Linked DNA regions of Homo sapiens: region 1 is linked to region 2. The links are contacts of gene promoters, found by promoter capture Hi-C in blood cells and fetal thymus (Javierre and others, 2016). All regions are on one chromosome and are shown on one strand. The core of a region is centred on a gene start or on the middle of the fragment in contact, and the rest is flanking DNA. Distances in the headings are between cores, read along the strand shown.

Region 1 (4,081 bases), core at 862-3,361, 98 kb after region 2:
TAACTGGCCTGTAAACCTCAAAATTAAGTCAAGATCATGGAACCAAGAAAACACTGAGGAATTGTTCCACACTAAAGAAGTGTGCAGAAACATGGCAACTCCATGTGGTTCATGATTCTGAATCGGCATGATTGGCAAAACTAGAATGTCTGAAAATTAGATTGTAGTCGTGTATCTGTGTTAATGATTTTATTTTTATCTTCTTTTTTTTTTAACTCTTCTTTTTTTTGGTATTTTCTTTTTTGTTTTGGTTTGTCCTTCCTTTTTTTTGTTGTTTTTTGTTTTTTGTTACAAACCCTTGTGTCGATAGCTGACTGCTCTGCTGTATACGAAACCCTGACCCAGAAACAGGTTGTCTGTGAATGGTTTAGCACAGGTCCCCCGTGAATGTGCATTGTGTGACGGGCAAAAGTGTGGCCGCCTTTCTACTGTGCCAAGTTTTCCAGCATGAGAGGCTTTCCATATCTGGTCCTCAGATATGTGGTGTGAATGAAGGGGGGACCAGCTATCCGAGGCCAACCGAGGCTCCACAGTTGGCTGCCATGTCATTTTGCCTGGGCGGGATTCTGACTTAGAGGCCTTTGGTCATAATCTGACAGGTGAGCGTTGACGATTTTGATGGTAGCATTTTGTTTGTATGGGAGAATAGTCTAGTTTTGTTTGTTGGAAATAGTCACTAAAGTATTGGGGGATAATGAGAAAGAAATACTGGCAAACTTACTCTCACATGCTTCAGAGACTAAAAGTTTGATAAGCTAGATATAGAACTTTTCCTATGGTTTGAGATATAGTTCCTTTTCTCTAAAGAGTTGTCGGTGAGTCCCTTTCAGAAACGTACTTGAGTGAGGATGTGTTGAAATTTGTGGGAAGCTGTGAAAGGCAGCTTTTAGCCTACCAAAAGAGGACTGGCCTGGAAGGCAAGAGACCTGAGTCTTGGTCCCTGCTTCTGATGACATGTCACATGGGCATGTGCTCGTCACTCTGCTTCTGCAAGTTTTTGTGTTTCTCATCTGTGGAGTTAAGGGATTGGGATGGTCTCTAGGGTCTCGTACAGCTCTAATATTGTCACCGCCCTCAGGAACATTACATGAAATTAGCATATATGCAATATATTAAGATTCATGTGTGGATTGTTTCCCAGTTACTAGCGCTGTCTTTAATGTAATTTACCTCAGAAATCTCTGGATAATCATTATTGAGATATAATGAAATAGGGAAAAACTTGAGGTTAAAAACTAGTAAATTGATTTACTTCAACATTAAAAGCCCACAATTAAACCCTTGAGGAAAATGACTATTTTTATTTTTTATTTTTTGCTCTGCAAGTAAGGTTGGAACTTCGTAATACTGTATGACAGTAGTCGTTTACCTCACGAATTAGATTATTCATGTGTGTTTGACTGAAGAGAGTTTTTACCTAGTGACTGGAATGAATGTTAATGCTGCTATTTTGGCATTGGAAAAAAAAGGTGTAATGAAAAATGTCAAGTTTGAGAGAGAGAGAAATACTTAAATAGAACTGATTTAAAAGCAATTCTGAAAAAGAAAGAACTTGGCACAATCTTTCTATGAAAGCAAAGACTTTACTGCACAGCTAAAGAAAATGAAGCAAAAACAATACATTGCCCCAATTAATGTTTGAATTCACTGAACACAAGGTAGGCTAGCAAAGTAGAGAGTAATATCTTTGCCTCACCTTGGCCACAAGGATTTATTTTGTCAGTAACCAAGTTTAGTGTACTGCTATTTAGCTTTTTCACTACAGATGTGAAAATGTTTCTTTTTGGGGTTTGTTTGAAATTTTCTTTCCCTTTTCAATTTAGCAGTGCTGAACCTATCCTCAAATAAATTTACATTTTTCCCATTAAATCAACTTTGTTTCTGTTCCATGGTTGAAGCAAATACTTTATAAAGAAAAAAATCAGTGTAGACCTTTCACAAGTTAATTATTACTGCAGGGCTATATAGGCAAATAAAAATATTAGATGTTATGTTTTAGACCAGTGAAAAAACAGTTGGTAGTGATGCTAGATTAAGACTTGCCAGAATGTTCATCCCCTTAGTGAGCCATTCTGCTTATGATAACATTTTGTAATGTTTTCAGGCATTCTTTTGGGACAGCCCTGATCACTTATCATTCAAAGGGATGATAAAAGTGACAATCTTTAGACGTGTTGTAAATTCTTTCTTTCTTTCGTCCAAAGGGAGCTAGAAAGAAAAGACATTTGTGATTATCTGTCCACTTGAACACAACTGCTAGAAAGAGCTATTTAATTATTGCCAACAAGGCAGTGTGAGAGTTTATAGTAACATTAGGAGTGTTTCCAGTTATCCCAGCAGGATTCAGCATTCAAGAACTGGTAAATTTTGGCCAGACGCGGTGGCTCACACCTGTAATCCCAGCACTTTGGGAGGCCGAGGCAGGCGGATCACCTGAGGTCAGGAGTTCGAGACCAGCCTGACCAACATGGAGAAACCCCGTCTCTACAAAAAATACAAAATTAGCTGGGTGTGGTGGCACATGCCTGTAATCCCAGCTACTCGGGAGGCCGAGGCAGGAGAGTCGCTTGAACCTGGGAGGCGGAGCTTGTGGCGAGCCGAGATTGTGCGCCATTACACTCCAGCCTGAGCAACAAGAGTGAAACTCTATCTCAAAAAAAAAAATCTGGTAAATGTTTGTCTGGCATCATAGAATTTAATGCTTACCTCTAAAAATGTAAATTGGAAAATATTTTAGCCTTATGTGGTGTGTGATGTTAGCAGGGAAGTCTCTAATGTTTTCACATGAAGTCAGATGCTGGCTTTGGACCGAGGTGTATTTTGTTTACTTAAGGCAGTATCCATCATTTCCTATTTTAGTTTTTTGTTTCTTTTTGTTTGTTTGTTTTTTGAGATGGAGTCTTGCTCTGTCTCTCAGGCTGGAGTGCAGTGGTGCCATCTCAGCTCACTGCAACCTCCACCTCCTGGTTTCAAGCAATTCTCCTGCCTCAGCCTCCCAAGTAGCTGGGACTACAAGCGCGTATTGCCACCCCCAGGTAATTTTTTGTATTTTAGTAGAGACAGGGTTTCACCCTGTTGCCCATGCTGGTCGTGAACTCCTGAGCTCAGGCAATCCACCCGCCTTGGCCTCCCAAAGTGCTGGGATTACAGGCATGAGCCACCGCACCCAGCTGTCAGATGTCTTTACTGCCTCCGTGAAGATGATATGATTTCATCACATTTAACATTGTTAATGTGAAGATCATGTCAATAGATTTCCTTATATGGAATCTCTCATACCTGGAATAAACTGTGCTTGTTTATTTGTATTCCTTTTTATAATGTGCCATTGGATTCTGTTTGCTAATATTCAGAGATTTTGTGTTGATATTCGTAAGTAGTATTCAACTGTAGTATCTTTTGTGCAGTCTTTGTCAGGTTGGGGTTACCATTACACTTGCTTCATAAAATGAGTGTGGAAGTTTTCTTTCCTTTTCTGTGTTCTGAAATAGCATTAAGACTACTTTGTCTTTTTTTTTTTTTTTTTGACACAGAGTCTTGCTCTGTCACCCAGGCTGGAATGCAGTGGCATGATCTCGGCTGACTGCAACCTCTTCCTCCCAGGTTCAAGTGATTCTCCTGCCTCAGCCTCCCAAGAAGTTGGGACTACAGGTGCACACCACCACGTGTAACTAATTTTTATATTTTTAGTAGAGATGGGGTTTCACTATGTTGGCCAGACTGGTCTCAAACTCCTGACCTCAGGTGATCTACCCACCTCGGCCTCCCAAAGTGCTGGGATTACAGGCGCCAGCCACCAGTCTACCTTATCTTAAAATGGTATAATTTTCCTTTGAAACTATTTGCCTGGTATTTTTTTGGTTTTCTTAGACTGGTTTCTGCTTGGTTTCTACCACCACTCTTAATCCCCTCCAGTTGTTCTCTGCAACCACCACCATGACTGCCATTTCCTTGAGCACTTATTATCCATTAAGCACCTTTATGTGTGGTAATTAATGACTGTTATGTGTTTTGTTGTTTTGATACAAAGTCTCACTGTCGCCCAGGCTGGACTGCAGTGGCGCTGTCACTTGAATCCAAC
Region 2 (4,141 bases), core at 1,160-3,659:
GATATTGAAAGATTCCTTTCACCAGGGTGGAAGCCAGGATCTGAGGCGTGATGGAATGTGGACAGTGAGGCAGTGACAGCGCCACAAGGCAGGAGTCATCTCCAGGCACGTCCTTGGCCTGGAGCCCATAGGGACAAGCTCCTGGTGGTGCCTCACTTTGCCATCCTCTCTAAGCCGCAGACCTTGAATGGAATCAGTGCTCAAGAGTCTAATTGGGCCCACTCTGAGGATGCCTGCGGGAATATCAGCTTTTACCGCACCACACTGCACTTTACAGTGTGGGAGGGCCTGCCCCACGCACCACCTCACCTGTACTGCGGTTCTCAAACTTCACCCTACAGCCATTCTGTTGTAGGTGATCTCAGGGGCAGTTTGAGAAACAGTGGCTCAGGGTCTCACAGCAGCCCTCTGAGATAGGTTGGTTGCTATTGTCCCGATTTTTTCTCATCAAGAAACTGAGGCTCAGGTGAGCTAAGGAATGTGCCCAGGGCCACTGTTTATAAGAAGTAGCCTCAAGCCTTGCTCATGGTTACTGCCCTGACAGGGATCTAGGAAAGAGTGAGCAGGAGAATGGGATGAGGCAGGACCCTCCGCCCCAGCCCTGCTTTCTCTGCCCAGACACCTCCTGCCTTGCAGACCCAACCCCACCCCAGATGGTTTCCTTTCCAGTCACCCAGCTGCTAGTTCTCCAGGTTCCTGGTCTCACTCCAGGTTCCTCCTGTTAGAGAAGCATCCCAGAGACATTCATTCCTGGCAAGGACACAGGCCTGCGGACCTGAAGGTCAGGTGGGCAGAGCCACATAAGATCTGGTGCCCCATCCTCCATTTAAAAAATTATACTTTCCAACGGCATTGGTATAAAGGTGAATATATTAATATCATATATTAAAACATTTTCTTTGACATAAAGGTTTCTTTCTTCTGCCTTTAAAATAAAATATTTTGGCCAGGTGTAATGGTTCACACCTATAATCCCAGCACTTGGGAAGGCTGAGGCAGGAGGATCACTTGAGCCCAAGAGTTCAAGACCAGCCTGGGCAACATAGAGACCCTGTCTCTACAAATTTTTTTTAATCAGCTGGGCGTGGTGGTGCTTGCCTGTGTTCCCAGACACTAGGAAGGCTGAGGCAGGAGGGGAGGGTCACTTGAGCCCAGGAGTTTGAGGCTGCAGTGAGCTGTGATCATGCCACTGCACTCCAGTGTGGGCACCAGAGAAGGAGCTTGTCTCTAAAAAGAGAGAAAAAGAATATTTTCAAGAGCCTCTGTGTTGGCAGAAAAATGGCCCTTCAGAGATGTTCATGTCCTATACCTGTGCCTGTGTTAGATTACATGGCAGACCCGGCATAGTGGCTCACGCCTGTACTGTAATCCCAGCACTTTGGGAGGCCGAGGCAGGCAGATCATTTGAGGTCAGGAGTTTGAGACCAGCCTGACCAACATGGTGAAACCCCATCTCTACTAAAAATACAAAAAAAATTAGCCGGGCATGGTGGTGCGTGCCTGCAGTCCCAGCTACTCGGGAGGCTGAGGCAGGAAAATCGCTTGAACCAGGGAGGCAGAGGTTGCAGTGAGTCGAGGTCATGCCACTGCAGTACAGCCTGGGTGACAGGGTGAGACTCCGTGTCAAAAAAAAATAATAATAATAATAAGGGGCAAAGGGGAATTAAGGTTGCTAATCAACTGATTTAGAGAGATGATGCTGGACTATCTGGGTGGGCCCAATGGCATCAGGAGGGTCTTTAGAAGTAGCAGAAGGAAGCAGAGGAGGGAACCAGAGGTGGCAGTGTGAGAAAGGCTCAACTGGCCATTGCTGGCTTCGAGGCTGTAGGAAGGGGCCACGAGCCAAGGTATGCAGGGAGCCCTTAGGAGCTGGAAAAGGCAGGGGAACAGTTTCTCCCCTAGAATCCTCAGAAAGGAACGCATTCTGGCGATCCCTGGATCTTCGCCCACTGAGGCTAAGTGGACTTCTGACCTCCAGAACGGAAAGATAACAAAAGCCTCAACGTTTGTGGAAACAAACAACTCATAATGAGCCTGGGACTGTGCCTCCTTCCCGGACGGATGAGCCTGCCTGGGCAGTCTGGGTTTGCATCCCTGCTCTGTCACTTACCAGCTATTGACGGCAGAAGTTGCTTAATTTCTGGGCGCTGTGACCTAGGGATTGCTTTCCCCATCCAGCCGCCCACCCAAAGCTGCAGAAGAGAAGCAAGAGGCTGGTGACTGGGGCGGCTCCGGAGCCCAGGTGGAGCCGCAGTTCGCCTACCACTAAAGGGCCGCAGTCACCGTCCACGTAGCCGCCAGGGGGCAGCAGAGGTCCGGCCCCGCCAGCCTGGAGGCCCGACTGCGCCTGCGCGGCGCCCGCGGCGCCCGCGGCGGCCAGGGACGGGAAGTGGGCGGGGCCGGCCGGCAGCAGCTTGCGGGACACGGAGCCGCGAGGAGACAGCTGAGGCCCGCGGAGACCAGGGGTGAGGAGGCCGGGGGGGACGGGATTAGAGGGCTGACGGGGCTGGGACGAGGGTCAGGCGAGCGCCCAAGGCGCACAGGGGTGAAATGGGACCGAGGAACCGGAGGGGTGGAATCAGAGGGCTGGGGAGGCAAGGAGGCCGAGACGAGGCTCACATGGGTGCACCGAAAGGGTGCGGGGGTGCAGTGCGGGGGGCCGAGGAGCAAGAGGGGCCGCTGCGGACATGAGGAACCCGAGGCTGGGAGTTGGGGGGCTGGGGAGCCAAGGGGGCAGAACTGGGGGGCAGGCGGGGGTGTGGCCGAGCCGAGGGCCTGGTAGGGACCGAGGGCTATGAGGCAGAATCGGGTGCTGAGGGGGACGCGCCCCATTTTCCGAGATTTGGCCTCTCCCCACCCCCCAGGAGCCTCTGGGCCGGCACGTTGCCCCATATCCCCCCAGTCCCTGCACCTTCAGGGGCCCAGTCTGCCTGATGGCCCCCGGCTCCGCGGCCTCCCAAGCGTCCGTGAAGCGAGCGTCAGCTGCACAAGTGCTCGGGCTGCAGCTGCTTCAGCCACAGGTCTGTGAGCCAGAGCCTCAGGCGCGGAGGCCGGGCACATTGCCGCTGGGTTCGGTCAGGCAAGCCCCTGAACCTGTCTGTACAACAGGAAGAACTGGCTCCGGCTGCAGGGATTTCGGCACAGCGCTTGACACACAGTGAGGCCCACTGCATGGTGGCGGGCTCCTTCGAAGCCTTCCACCCTGCGGGACAGAGTCACACATGTCGTGGTGGCATTCCCCGGGACAAGTTCTCTGGGCCCAGCTGAGCTCTCACCACGGGGGATAGAAAGTGGGGCCGGCCAGCACTCTGAGGCCATCTCCAGTCTCTTCTGTTGTCAAATTTCGCTCTTTTCCTCCTGCACGCGAGGTGGAAATACCAAAGGCATTGGGCATCCAGAGACCTTGATTGAGTTCGCTTTGCCCTTTCACCTGTGTGAGACCTTAAATGGGTGCTTGCCCTCCTATAACCTATTTCTTCATCTGCAGTGTAGCCTGACAGTATGTACTTCTCAGCGTAGTTGTGAGAGGTAAACAAAACGAATGCATTTCTGAAAGCCATGAACCTCTACACAAGTTCATTTGTGGAATTCCTTTAAGATACCCCCTGAAGGCCGGGCGCGGTGGCTCATACCTGTAATCCCAGCACTTTGGGAGGCCGAGGCAGGCATATCACCTGAGGTCAAGAGTTCCAGACCAGCATGGCAAAATCCCATCTCTACTAAAAATACAAAAATTAGCCGCGCGTGGTGGCAGGTGCCTGTAATCCTAGCTACTCAGGAGGCTGAGGCAGGAGAATTGCTTGAACCTGGGAGGCGAAGGTTGCAGTGAGCTGAGATCCCACCATTGCACTCCAGCCTGGGCAACAAGAGCGAAACTCCCTCTCAAAAAAAAAAAAAAAAAAAAAAAGGATACCATCTGACCTGAAGCCAACCGAGTCTTTTAAGACCTGGCGCTGCTGCCCACTGCACCCTTCAGAGTGGTGTAGCTTCCTCAGCCCATGCCACCCGCCAGTCACTCTTCCCTCTGCCATCACACTTACCACCTGCTGTACACAAAGGGCCATCGTGGGCTCCCTGACTACAGGGAGCTTACAGTCTATCAAGAAAGTCAGGCCTGTAGAAAGAAATGGTCATTGCACAG

The links. The method cuts DNA at HindIII sites, captures the fragments that hold promoters and counts their contacts. A CHiCAGO score of 5 or more calls a contact.
Region 1: a fragment that was not itself captured here is called in contact with the fragment with the promoter of PPM1F in region 2 in 1 of 17 cell types (neutrophils); the score reaches 6.2 in neutrophils.

What each region holds. Positions count from the first base shown.
Region 1 is chr22:21,852,777-21,856,857 of GRCh38, reverse strand. The region is part of intron 1 of MAPK1 (mitogen-activated protein kinase 1); the gene reads left to right. Among named protein-coding and RNA genes, the nearest start is that of MAPK1, 13 kb to the left of the region's middle. RefSeq lists an enhancer at 515-1,016. The HindIII fragment of the contact is 7,079 bases long and covers 1-4,081 here.
Region 2 is chr22:21,951,116-21,955,256 of GRCh38, reverse strand. PPM1F (protein phosphatase, Mg2+/Mn2+ dependent 1F) reads left to right here and starts at 2,409. Exons shown (of 8, transcript NM_014634.4): 1 at 2,409-2,465. RefSeq lists a silencer at 2,217-2,626 and enhancers at 2,620-3,140, 3,187-3,256. The HindIII fragment of the contact is 22,373 bases long and covers 1-4,141 here.